3 separate regions of the Homo sapiens genome follow, and regions 1 and 2 are each linked to region 3. Evidence: promoter capture Hi-C in 16 types of primary human blood cells and fetal thymus (Javierre and others, 2016). All regions are on one chromosome and are shown on one strand. The core of a region is centred on a gene start or on the middle of the fragment in contact, and the rest is flanking DNA. Distances in the headings are between cores, read along the strand shown. Region 1 overlaps CSGALNACT1 (chondroitin sulfate N-acetylgalactosaminyltransferase 1). Region 2 holds the start of LOC124901900 (a long non-coding RNA gene). Region 3 holds the start of SLC18A1 (solute carrier family 18 member A1).

What was found. Contacts are between HindIII fragments. The CHiCAGO score rates a contact against its expected background, and 5 or more counts as called.
Region 1: a contact is called between a fragment that was not itself captured here and the fragment with the promoter of SLC18A1 in region 3, in 1 of 17 cell types (neutrophils). The highest score is 5.6, in neutrophils.
Region 2: a fragment that was not itself captured here is called in contact with the fragment with the promoter of SLC18A1 in region 3 in 1 of 17 cell types (neutrophils); the score reaches 5.4 in neutrophils.

What each region holds. Positions count from the first base shown.
Region 1 is chr8:19,622,540-19,626,802 of GRCh38, reverse strand. All of the region lies in intron 1 of CSGALNACT1 (chondroitin sulfate N-acetylgalactosaminyltransferase 1), which reads left to right. Among named protein-coding and RNA genes, the nearest start is that of CSGALNACT1-AS1, 54 kb to the left of the region's middle. The HindIII fragment of the contact is 1,398 bases long and covers 2,244-3,641 here.
Region 2 is chr8:19,638,658-19,642,596 of GRCh38, reverse strand. The region is part of intron 1 of CSGALNACT1 (chondroitin sulfate N-acetylgalactosaminyltransferase 1); the gene reads left to right. It overlaps LOC124901900 (a long non-coding RNA gene), which reads right to left and starts at 1,446. Exons shown (of 3, transcript XR_007060842.1): 1 at 1,374-1,446. RefSeq lists an enhancer at 2,271-2,815. The HindIII fragment of the contact is 1,544 bases long and covers 1,385-2,928 here.
Region 3 is chr8:20,180,984-20,185,080 of GRCh38, reverse strand. It overlaps SLC18A1 (solute carrier family 18 member A1), which reads left to right and starts at 1,945. Exons shown (of 16, transcript NM_003053.4): 1 at 1,945-2,018; 2 at 3,994-4,097. The HindIII fragment of the contact is 10,670 bases long and covers 1-4,097 here.

The DNA.
Region 1 (4,263 bases), core at 1,693-4,192, 560 kb after region 3:
CACCACCCATATTCTCTTTGGTGAAGGTCTGTCTGTTCAAGTCTTTTGCACACTAAAAAACTTAGATTGTTTACTATTTAGTTTAGCAAGTTATTTAAATATACTGAAAGCAAGTCCTTAGTCAGACATGTATTTTGCAGACATGTTCTCACTTTCTGTTGATTATCTTTTCATCCTATTCCCAAGATACTTTGTGGAAAACAAATTTATAATGAATTGAAATTTTTATGTTACTGATCATGCTTTCAGTGTCATGCCTAAGATTTCTTTGCCTAACCCTAAGTTACAAGGATTTTCTATGTTTTTTCTAAAGGTTTTATATTTTTACATTTACCATTTTACATTGAGATCTAGGATCCATTTTGATCTAATTTTTGTTAAAGGTGTGGTTTAGATTGTAAATTTTTTTTTTCCTTCCCCTTTGGGCCTCAGGATAGCCAGTTGTTCCGACACCATTTCTTGAAAACAGTCTCCTTCCTCCATTCAGTTGCTTTTTAAATCTTTGTTAAAAAATAAATGTGCTGGCCATTCTTACGTAAAGCTATTTCTGGGTTCTGTAATCTGTTCCATTGATCTATGGACCTTTTTCTCTGCAAATACCATGCTGTGTTGATTACTATAGTTACACAGTAAGTCTTAAAACTGGGTATTGTGATTCCTCTGACTTTATTCTTCTTTTTCAAAATTGTTTTAACTTTTTAGTTCTGTTTCCTTTCCATATAAATTTTAGAAGAAGCCTGTGTATATCTACAAAAAATCTTGCTAGGATTATCTGTTAATTTAAATGTTAATACTTTCTTCATCCTGTATGTGTTTTATTGTCTCAGTTTAAAGCTCTTTAAATCTTTGCAAATAACTTTTGAAAAGGCTTTAGAGATTATTTAGCCTGATTGCAACATTTTACTATGGAGAAAATGTAGACTTTTTTTGGGGACAGATTGAGTGAAGTTAGGTGACTTGCCCAAGATTACCCAGGAAACTAACTGGCTTAGGATGAATTCCCCAGCCTCAAACTCCTTGTTCTGTAGGATTTTCCACTTGCCTTAAGGCCCCCTCTCTTAAGCCTACTGAATCTTACTTCTTTTTCGTACATTTTCTAGTTTGTTTAAAGAGATTGTTTAGAATTTCACTGTTGTGTTGCAGAGACAGCATGATCCGCTATAGTATAGAGTCAGCTTGGGAACTTGTTAAAACTGCAGATTCCTATACTCCAGCCCTGGATATTCTAATTCAGTAAGCAAGGTGTGAGGCTCAGGCACCTCAAATTACTGTGATAGAAGTGAGCTGTGGGCCACCTTTTGAGAAACCTGGGATGATAAAAGAGAAACACAGGCCTTGGAGTCAGATAGACCTGGAGTCAACTCCTGACTTTTTAATTTACTTATATAATAGCTCTATGCTTCAGTTTCTTCATGTATAAAATGAGGAGAATGACATTTGTTTTACGTTTTCTTACTGTTTAAACACAGCATGTATGAAGTTTGTAGCATTAAACTTGGTACCCCAAATCAGTGAATGCTACTTCCTTTCTTTTCTTCCTCCTTAATAGACTGCAGTTTAATGCCTATTGGAGGAAGAAACAGCGTGATGTGTGTCACAGACCACCCCACGTCCCTCCTGGTCACTGGGAAGACTATACTTTACAGTCCCTCTCCATCTAGGTAGGGTTGTGATACTCTTTCTGGCCAATGGAATGTGAATGGAACTGACTCGTGTCCCTTCCTGGCTGAGATGGTTCAGTCGTTGATTAGGCTTATCTTTTGTTCCTCTGCATCTACTAGCTGGGTGATAGCAGGATGACAGTGAAGCAAGAAGATGGTGAAACCGGCTGGGTGCAGTGGCTCACGCCTGTAATCCCGGCATTTTGGGAGGCCGAGGTGGGCGGGTCACGAGGTCAGGAGATTGAGACCATCCTGGCCAATATGGTGAAACCCCATTTCTACTAAAAATAGAAAAATTAGCTGGGCGTGGTGGTGTATGCCTATAATGCCAGCTACTTGGGAGGCTGAGGCAGGAGAATCGCTTGAACCCGGGAGGCGGAAGTTGCAGTGAGCTGAGATCTCGCCACTGCACTCCAGCCTGGGCAACAGAGCGAGACTCTGTCTCAAGAAAAGAAAAAAAAAAAACAAGAAGATGGTAAAAGTACAAGATGGAAGGAAGTAGCCTGATCCTCTGAGTCACCATTTGGGGGAGACTCCAAACTCCATTAACACATGAGAGTGATTCAAAAGAGAACTAAAGCTTTGTTGTTTTAAACCACTGAGATTTGGGGGCATGTGTGCAGTACTTAGTGTTAATTACTCCAATTAATATACTGTGTTGGCTATTTTTAAACACTTAAAATTATCTTTTGAATATTATCTTTGTTCTATGTTCTAAATGCTTTATGGTTTATACTAGCTACAGGAAGTACATAAAGACATGTAAGCAGTTCAGTAGGAGATAAAAGCATGATGAGATCTTCACTGGTGGAGAATACAAAATTTTTTAAATCCAGAATATTTTTGTGGGTTTTATGTATATAATCTCAAACATCAGAGGCAGGTCTCTTAGCCAGGTGAAAGTCAAGATAATAATCCCTTGACAATAAGGGCTATCAGGAACCAGAGGTAGTAGATGGTAGATAATCTCAGAGGGGCTACACTGTTGAAGAGGTGGTCCAAATAGTCTAGGGACCGATGGTGGGCATTCTACCACTAGGAGAATGGTGCTGGGCACTAGAAGAAAAGACAAAGGGTTTAGCACGTAATTTACTATGCCACTGCTCATTATAAAATAGAAGATTCTTGTGTTCCATGGAGTAGCTGCCCGGGGACCGGATCTAAAATATTTCGCCATTTGCCTCCAGTGATCTCCTAGACCTTGTAAGATGAGCCTCCTTCATAGGCACAGGCTTAAGTACATGATTCATTAATACAAGAGAGAAATCATCTTAGGTCATTAGATCATTAAGAGGGACCATTATTTCCCCACTTTCAGTGAATAGATGAAAAGCCCATTCTGGCTTAGAGATTTCCCCTCCGAAAGGATTTATTATCAATAGGTCCTAAGTAGTTTCTGATTCATGAATTCTTTAAAAGTTTATTGGTTAATATCCAAACACCTGGGGATTTTCCAGTCATCTTTCTGTTATTCTGGCTCAATTTTACTGAGGTCTGTGAACCTACTCTGTGTAATTTCAATTCTTAGAGATTTGTTAAGTACTGCTTTCTGGCCCAGCATGTAGTTAATTGTTGTAAACATTCTATTTACTCTTGAAAATAATTCACATTCTACAGTTGGTGGATATAGTATTGAAGAGTGTTAATAGTATTGTTCAATTCTTAAAAAATGTGACAGGATATTTTATGCTGTTTATGAGATTGACTTCTCAAATTCAGGTTATAGAGAGGTTAAAAGCAAAAGTATAGAAACATTTTTGTTCAAAATATCTTCACAGATTGTTTTTCCTGTTTCCTCTGTGAACCCCAGAGAAAGGTATATTAAAATATCTATGATTAAGGATTATTATTACTTCTCCCTTTAATTCATCCACTTTTTTCTTTGTCTCAAGGACATGTTATTATATGCATACAGCTTTAGAATTGCTATATCAATCTGATGACAGTGGTTCTTCCCTTAAAGTCTAGTTTGATTAAGCTTTCCCAGTTTCTGTTTGGTTAGTATTTGCATATGTTTTTTAACCCTTTACTGTCAAATATTCTATATCCTTATGTTGAAGGTATGCCTCTTTTTTATTTACTTTACTTTAAGTTCTGGGATACATGTGTGGAATGTGCAGGTTTGTTACCTACGTATACATGTGCCAGGGTGGTTTGCAGTACCTATCAACCCGTCATCTAAGCAGCATACTTCAATTTTATTTTATCTACTGTGTCAATCTTTGTCTTGTAATTGGGGTATCTATTGGCCTTTAATAGAATTACAGATTTAGCTTTCAATCTACCATCTTACTACTTAATTTCTATTTTTCTCACCCATTTCTTGTTTCTTTTTTTCTCCTTTCTTGCCTTATTTTCAGTTAAGTATTACTTTTTTATTTCCCCCCTCTTTATTAGCTTATTAATTACACATTATTTTACATTCTTGTAGTGGTTACATTAGAGAGTGTGTATTTATCTTTGACTTACTAAAGGCTAATTTAAAGTAGTACTTTTACCACTTCCTGGACAATGCAAGGGCTTTAAAATACTTTTAACTCCATTTATACCCCTTTCAAATTTATATGCTACTATCCTGAATAACTTCTAGGTAACAGTAAAA
Region 2 (3,939 bases), core at 907-3,406, 540 kb after region 3:
ATTTCACCTTTTTGCCCAGGCTGGTCTCAAACTCCTGAGCTCAAGTGATCCACCCTCCTTGGCCTCCCAAAGTCCTGGGATTACAGGCATGAGCCACTACTCTCAGCTTCCCCATAGCCTTTTGTCATCACTTCATCATGTATTAATGTCTTTTATAGCTTAGGGTCTGTTTCTGTGCTATTTAGTTTTGTTGATCTGTTTCATATTTACCCTAGAATGATACTCTGTTATTGTAGCTTTATGTTTTATTTCTTGAAGTTGTATTCTTCCTCCTTACAATTATTTTCTAGAACTTAGTCATTGTAACCGTTTTACTTTATATGAGTCAGAGTCATTTTGCAAGATTCATTCTCTTCTGTCTTCTCTGATCTCTACCCTTCCTACAGCAAAAACAAACAAAATAAAAACTAAAGGGAAACACAGATGTCTCTAAGATTTCTCTTGGAATTGTGTAAAGCTAACAAAATGATTCAGGCAGAATGGAACTCTGTTTTAGTGCCTATTTAACAAGCCATTTTCCTTTCAAACAGAAGCCTCTTAGTTTTCAGTACTCTTCCTAACTGATGTCCAGTTAGACACAGACATCAGGCGTTGCCCAAATATCTCCCAAGGAAGAGGTGATTGGACTACATGGTTTTTACACCTATAAAGGGTTGTAAAATAAACCAAAGAGGAAGATGAGGCAGAAACCTCATGGAGCCCACAAAGCTGAAAATATTTAAGTATCTGTCCCTTCGCAGAAAAAAATTGCTGAGGACACTGTGTAGCAAAGCCCCGGCCAACAACCAGAAGGCATTTGGGGGTCACCTGGTAATTATGAGCCATCACTTTGCTTTCAGTCACTTTCTGCCTCTTCTGTACATTATCTAGGAAGGTGTGTGTTTTGTAAATGCATTTAAGGCAGTCTTATGGGAGGATATGAGTGAATGCCTACAGGTTTTGTTTCTTTCTTTGTTTTCACCCTCGTATTTCAATATGTTTCATACATTTAAAAAGGTATGTTGAGTGTGTGTTGTGAAACATTTTTTACAATGTACTTCTTTTTGAAAGATCGTGTCCACTCCTGTGGACATCTTGTTTTAATGGAGTTTCCCATGCAGTAGGACTGGTATGGTTGCAGCTGTCCAGATAAAAACATTTGAAGAGCTCCAAAATGAGAGTTCTCCCAGGTTCGCCCTGCTGCTCCAAGTCTCAGCAGCAGCCTCTTTTAGGAGGCATCTTCTGAACTAGATTAAGGCAGCTTGTAAATCTGATGTGATTTGGTTTATTATCCAACTAACTTCCATCTGTTATCACTGGAGAAAGCCCAGACTCCCCAGGACGGGTAGGGATTGTGGGCATAGAGGGATTGGGTGAGGCTGGCGTTGTGGTACCTGGAAAAGCTTGAACACTTGAAGGTCTTGTTGGGAGGAGAAGTGAAGGGGAGAGAGAGGGTTGGTTTAAAAAAAAAAAAAAAAAAAAAAAAAAAGACCAGTCACCATTATTGGTAATACAGGTAGATTCCGCATCCCTGGGAGACTTGAGAACTCCATGGAAGGAGAGACCTAATAGAAATGGATTACAAAATGATCCTGCTTTGTGTTTAAGCAGCCTGAGTCTCACAGGATCAGTCTGAACTCTAATGGGTTTCTCTATGGTTTCATTCCTCTGTCTTAGAAAATGATTGTTCAGGCACTGAATCCAGCCTTTTGGATAATCTGAAAGGAAAAAAAAAACAACCAAAACTTAAGTCTTAAGCTCATAATTCTACTTTCTGAAATACAGAGTGTGTTTGCTAAAGATTTCATAATCTTTTTTCAAGTGTAGAATTGTTTAAGAATAGTGTAAGGGCCTGCAGAGTTTGGTTAATAGAATTTATAGCATGCGAGTCAGGCAAAGACCAAATTTCATGGAAAAACTTCTGAAGCAAAGTTGTTAGAAATTCAGATTAGATTCAAGTGTGCCAGATCAACTACTGAGAAATGCTATATAGTGCTTCCCTGTTAGAAGAATCTGCTTAGAATTAATGTTGTTATTTTCTTATGTAGTGGAGAACTGATTTTGAGTTTGAGTCCAAGTACATTTTCCAGATGTAATCATTTTACCTAAGTAAATGAAAATATGGCTGTGTTTGGGACTCAAAGTTACATTGAGAATGTCTTTAGCAGCAGTTTGATGTTCAGTCAAGAATACTCTAGCAGCTGAATTCCAAGGAGTCTGGAGAATTTCAGGAATCAAGGAGAAAACAGTGAGATTTGAGAGTTGGGAGATTTACATGTGTGGGATCATGTGCTTTAAATTTGTTGCATAGTCATTTTCCATACATGTGTAATATATGTAAATGTACATATGTATAAATACATTTCATAAAGTGAGCAAAATATACAAATATTACACTGATGTGTGGCTGGCAAGTGCTAGAGGTTGAGATGGGAGATGTTAATAAGCTATTTGCTCACTACAGTATCATTGAGGGAAATAAAATACCTTATATATCTTTGTTATTTCCCCCCAGGTGCATTGAACATTGAAAGGTCTCATCAGCAGGTGGGATCGTTTACTGAGCTTGGTTGAATGGGCATGGTGGTGCGCCTGTAGTCCCAGCTACTTGGGAGGCCGAGGTGGGAGAATCACCTGAGCCCAGGGAGGTCTGGGCTGCAATGGACAGTGATTGTACCACTGCATTCCAGCCTGAGAGACGGAATGAAACTGTCTCATTAAAAAAACAAACAAAAACAAAACAAAACAAAACTGTTCTTAAAAGTGAGTGTTCCAAAGAGCATTTTAGATAATGCAAATGGATATATCGTTATAAATTCAGGAGACTCCTTAATATTTTGCCATTTGTTTATGATGACATGGAGCGGGTCAGAGCAGTTGCACGTTGTGGATGGCCTGATTAAGAAAAGCAGCTCTCTTCCCCTTGAGGTGGAAGAAGAGAGGGAAGCTTTGTCAAATGTTAAATTACCTGCCCCATCTTCCTGACTCCCAAGACTTGGTATGATACATAGTTTTCAATATTCATTACCCATTTTGAGTATCTCCTCCCTGGTCCTGCTATGGAACTATGTGCCCTGACCAAGAGTGATGGGGGTACCCTAGTTTTGTGACAGACCTGTTTCCACATTGTTTCACATGTGATACAGTAGATTTTAGCAACTCTTTGGCTTCTTCCTGGCAGTGGTTAATGGTGCAATGAAAATATTAGAAAATAAAAACCATTCTGTGGAAAATTGGGAGCAAAATTCTCATTAATCCAAAAACAACAATAGCTAGCATATTTCCCCCAGACCCCATGATGTAGACATGTTTGTCTCTCATTGTTTAAATACAACCCTTCTTAACCAAGGGCAAGCATGCTGTGCCTTTCTCCTCTCCCATTTGGACATAAAGCCTGTTATTGTTGATTGTTCTGTGGTTGGGTCACTTGAAAATGAGATTTCATTTAAGTAGAACATTTTCATTACAGGATAACAGGCCTCTTTAATTTTGTACTTTTAGAGGGGCTAGGGAAACATTCATATTTACTGTCAATTTTCCCCTTCAGAGTCCTGAAGAGGCAGGGGAGGAGTCGTTAGAGAAGAGGTGATCATGATATACCTCTTTATTGGTGAGCCATAAAAAAACAGAAAAAGAACACAGAAAGTAGGCATTTACAGTAGTAAAAGCCTTTTGCAAATTATGTATGTGGTAGTTTTAACTGACCTTGGAAGTTGTAACTTTGATGTGCAAAGTAAGTCTCGGTGTATGCTTTTACATCAGAATGTGGCCTTTAAGAATAATGATCATCTATTGAATTTACAAAATACCTTCCCACAGGCCTAGTTCAGCTCTTTCTTGGTGGGGAGCAAATGAATTGACACTCTGTCTCTAGCCTTAGGGAAGTTACCACCCAGTGACTATAGAACAGGATTCTATTCCCGTTCTGTTCTCACTTATATGATCACTTCTTTCAAAGAT
Region 3 (4,097 bases), core at 696-3,195:
GTTAGGTGCTGTCTCGGAACATTCCTGTGAGGCTGCTCTACCCAAGCCCTCTCCCTCTAGCGCCCTCTATTGGACACAGGTACACTATGCCGGAGGCTGTCAACCCTCAGAGTTCTAACACTGTACTTAGGGTGGAGGGCATGGTGGCAGAATTGTCACCTGGACTCCAAAAAGGATACTGCCTTATGCCCAGAGTCTTGCAAATATCTTTATTAATACAGTTCCTCCATCTTTTGGCCCTAACCCCCTCATTCCCTAGAGGCTCAGGCCACAGGCCCTGCATGTAAGTGGGGGGCAGTGTGCCATGCTCCCTGTAGGGAGTGGACAGTGGCACCCCAGAGATGTCCACCTCCTAATCCTGGAACCTGTGAGTATGTTGCCTTGGTAGTCCCCTATGGTAAAAGGGACTTTGCAGATATGATTAAGGATCTTGAGATGGGGAGGTGATCTTGGAATATCTGGGTGGGCCCAGGGTCATCCCGTGAGTCCTTACAAGTGAAAGAGGGAGGCAGAAGGCTCAGAGTCAGAGGGAGAGTTGAATATGCATTGCTGCTAGCTTTGAGGGTAAAAGTGGCTAGGAGCCAAGAAATGCAGGAGATCTCTGGAAGCTGGAAAAGGCAAGGAAACAACCATCCCCCAGAATCTCCAGAAGGAATGCAGCCCTGCCGACACATTCATTTTAACCCGGTGTGATGTATTTTGGACTTCTGACCTCCAGAACTGCAAGATACTAAATACGTGTTGTTTTAAGCCACCAGATTGTAGTAATTTGTTACAGCAGCAAACTATAGCGATGAATACATTCTGCTGATGTCTTTGTTTCCTATCCCTATTTCTCGCTCTAGGTTTACATTTTAAAACTGTTTCCATCTAGGCCGCGCGCTGTGGCTCGCGTCTGTAATTCCAGCACTTTGAGAGGCCAAGGCAGGAGGATCACTTGAGGTCAGGACTTCGAGACCAGCCTGGCCAACATGGTGAAACCCTGTCTCTACTGAAAATACAAAAATTAGCTGAGCATGGTGGCATGCACCTGTAATCCCAGCTACTCAGGAGGTTGAGATTAGAGGATTGCTTGAACCCAGGTGGTGGAGGTTGCAGTGAGCCAAGATCATGCCACTGCACTCTAGCCTGGGTGACATAGCGAGACTCTGTCTCAAAAATAAAAAAAATAAAATTAAAAAACTATTTTCTTTTTTTTTAGCGTTAAATCGAAAGTTCCCTAGTTAATTCCCACAATTAGGAGGGGCCCACCAGTTCCACAAATAGGAAATCTCTGCACTGCTCTTGCTCGTAAAGTGTATTTGCTTTTTCATAAATTGCTTATGTTCTTTGAGCCACCAATGGTTTAATGTCAGAATAATATAGATCATTAGAGCCTCTCAAGATCCCACAAGGAACTGCACTTTCTCCTGTAGTTAACCATCCAGTCATCCATGCAAGAAATATTTATTGGATGCTACCATGTATCAGGCACTGAGCCAGTATTGAGATGTGAAGACACAGTGCATAATCTAAGCCTTTACAGAGGCCACAGATGTTGGGTTTTTATGGCTTGAGAACAACATACATTGTTTCTTTCCAGGAAGCTAATTGGGGTACATGGAGCCACTTTGACTAAGTAGCAAGGAACAGGAACTGCACACTGGTTCCATCTTGGCTTCCAATTTGTATTCAGACCCAGGCAAGAGTTAAAGAGTTCGATGATAGATAAGCACAGATGCAAAACAGTACAGTCCAGTGCCTCTTTGCTTAGGCTAATATCTGCCCTCTCTTTATCCTCTCCAGCCCTGCCTTCCTGCCTTTGACGCAGGGAGCTAAGGGTCTGAATGAACCCTGTTGGAGGTTGCAATTAAATCTTTGTGGACAAAGGCACACACACACACACATACACAGAATCCTCAGATAACAGGAGGCAATAAATCCAACAGCACATCCACGTTCAGAGAACAGTGTCCCTGCTGTCTTGCTAACAGCTGCCAATACCTCACTGAGTGCCTCACACCAACATGGGCTCCAAGGTAAGATTTTTCTCTCTCCGGACAAATTTAATCTTTCCTTGTGATTTGTGTCTCTGTCAGAGGATTTTGACTGTTAAGTAAAGTTTACTATTGATTTGTTGGCAAATTCCTGGTTTTGTTTGTTTTTGTTTTGGGATTTGGGTGTGTGTGTTTCTCTCTCTTTGTAGTACTTACTTCACTCACTATGTTTTTTAATTTTCCATGGCTTGTCTTTTATTCTTATCCATACATATCCTAAGTCAATTTGTATTCAGAAATACCTCCTTTATATAGAGAAATGAAGGATCTTAAGTAATTGCATGCATTTACTGGTTAAAACTTAACTGAGAATTTGGTTCACTTAGGACCTTGGTCACGTTAATATGTAGTAGTGAGAGGGTTCTTCCAGCCCTGGGCTTAGAACAGAGTACCTCAGTGTTTGGGGTACTCCCAACACCTGAGGCTGACTATTGAATTTCAGTGATAATCATTTAAAATTATTTACTTCTTTAATTACAAAAGTAGCTCATTATTGAATATTTAGAAATACACAGAAGATAACTGAAGTCATTGATTATAAATAACTGGCATTTGAGTATCTCTCTACTCTCTCAAAAATGTGCCCATATATTTATATTTAGACAATTGAGATAAAGTTGAAAACACAGTTTAATTTCCCTTTTTTACTTAACGTTATAGTAATAGTATTTTCTGTATCATTAAAATTATTTGAAAATATAATTTTTAAGAGCCGCTTAATAATCCACCATTAACATGTTTGACTTTTTTCACTAAGAAAAATAATTCTGCAATTGATCATTTTGAGTATAAGTCTTTGGCTGCATCTCTGACCTTTTTTCTTTTGTAGGATGGGTTCCTTGTAGTAGAGTTACTAAGTCAAAGAGTATACAATTTTTAGGGCCTGATAGATTTCATGATGGTAATCTATTTTAAAATTTAAATGAGTGATATTGTTGATACCACAACAGAAGCCACGTCAAAGAAAATGAAATTCTCCCCAGAAACTCTTATTACTTGAAGTTTGACAAGGTACTGTGACTTAATGCTGACTAATGATATGAAATCCTGAATAGAGAACTAATCATGAAAGTCAATATTTTATTTTCACAGATGAAGGCATCTTTCTGATCAGGGGTTTGTAGCTCAAACAAAAGAATGAGCGTGCTTCTAGAACCACAGAGCAAGGGAACATGGTAGAGGATAAGCTGGCAAGTTGAAAAGCGTGGGATTTCATCCCAGTTTGACACTAACTGTGCAACCCCAAACAAATCTCCTAACCTTCAGAGGCTCGGATTTCTTGTCTATGAGATGAAGGTTGGTCTACATCAGTGTTTCTCAGTGGGCAGCCCAAGTGACACTGTGCCACATGAAATATTTTGGGGTAGCACCTAGAACAAAGGTCATACTTTTTTTGCATGCCACATAAAATAACTTTTTGAAACATGATATCAATATCTATGTTGGTTTTAAAAATTTTTTGAGAGTTAGGGGTCTTGCTATGTAGTCCAGGCTGGACTCAAACTCCTGGGCTCAAGATATCCTCCCACCTCAGCCTCCCAAGTAACTGAGACTCCAGGCACATCCCACCATACCTGGCAGTATCTCAATATTTTAAAAGAGTGGATCTAGAGGAAAAAGATGAAGTAAATGATAGTACAGGTAGTCCTTAGATATGACATAAACCATCAAGGTGATAGGCAAATAAATGTCGGATGTTTGAAAAACACAGGGTTAAGTGATCTGTAGAGCATCTATTTTTATCTGGATTTATACCTAGCCATTAAATTCAAGGGAAATTAATGGCTAGATATAAATCCAGACATAAATAGCTAGTAAGCGATGCTTACCAGGAAGGCATTCTGGGAACCAGGTAGAGTTATTGAGATTTATAAGAAGTGAACAGTGATACAGACATGGAGATGTTTCCAAATATCATCCTACTACTTGCAACCCTTTGCACTTTTCGTTTTAATAGTGAGTTTCCTTCGTCTGGGCAGACTCCCTCCCCTCTTCCATAAAGGCTGCAGGAGACCTGTAGCTGTCACAGGACCTTCCCTAAGAGCCCGCAGGGGAAGACTG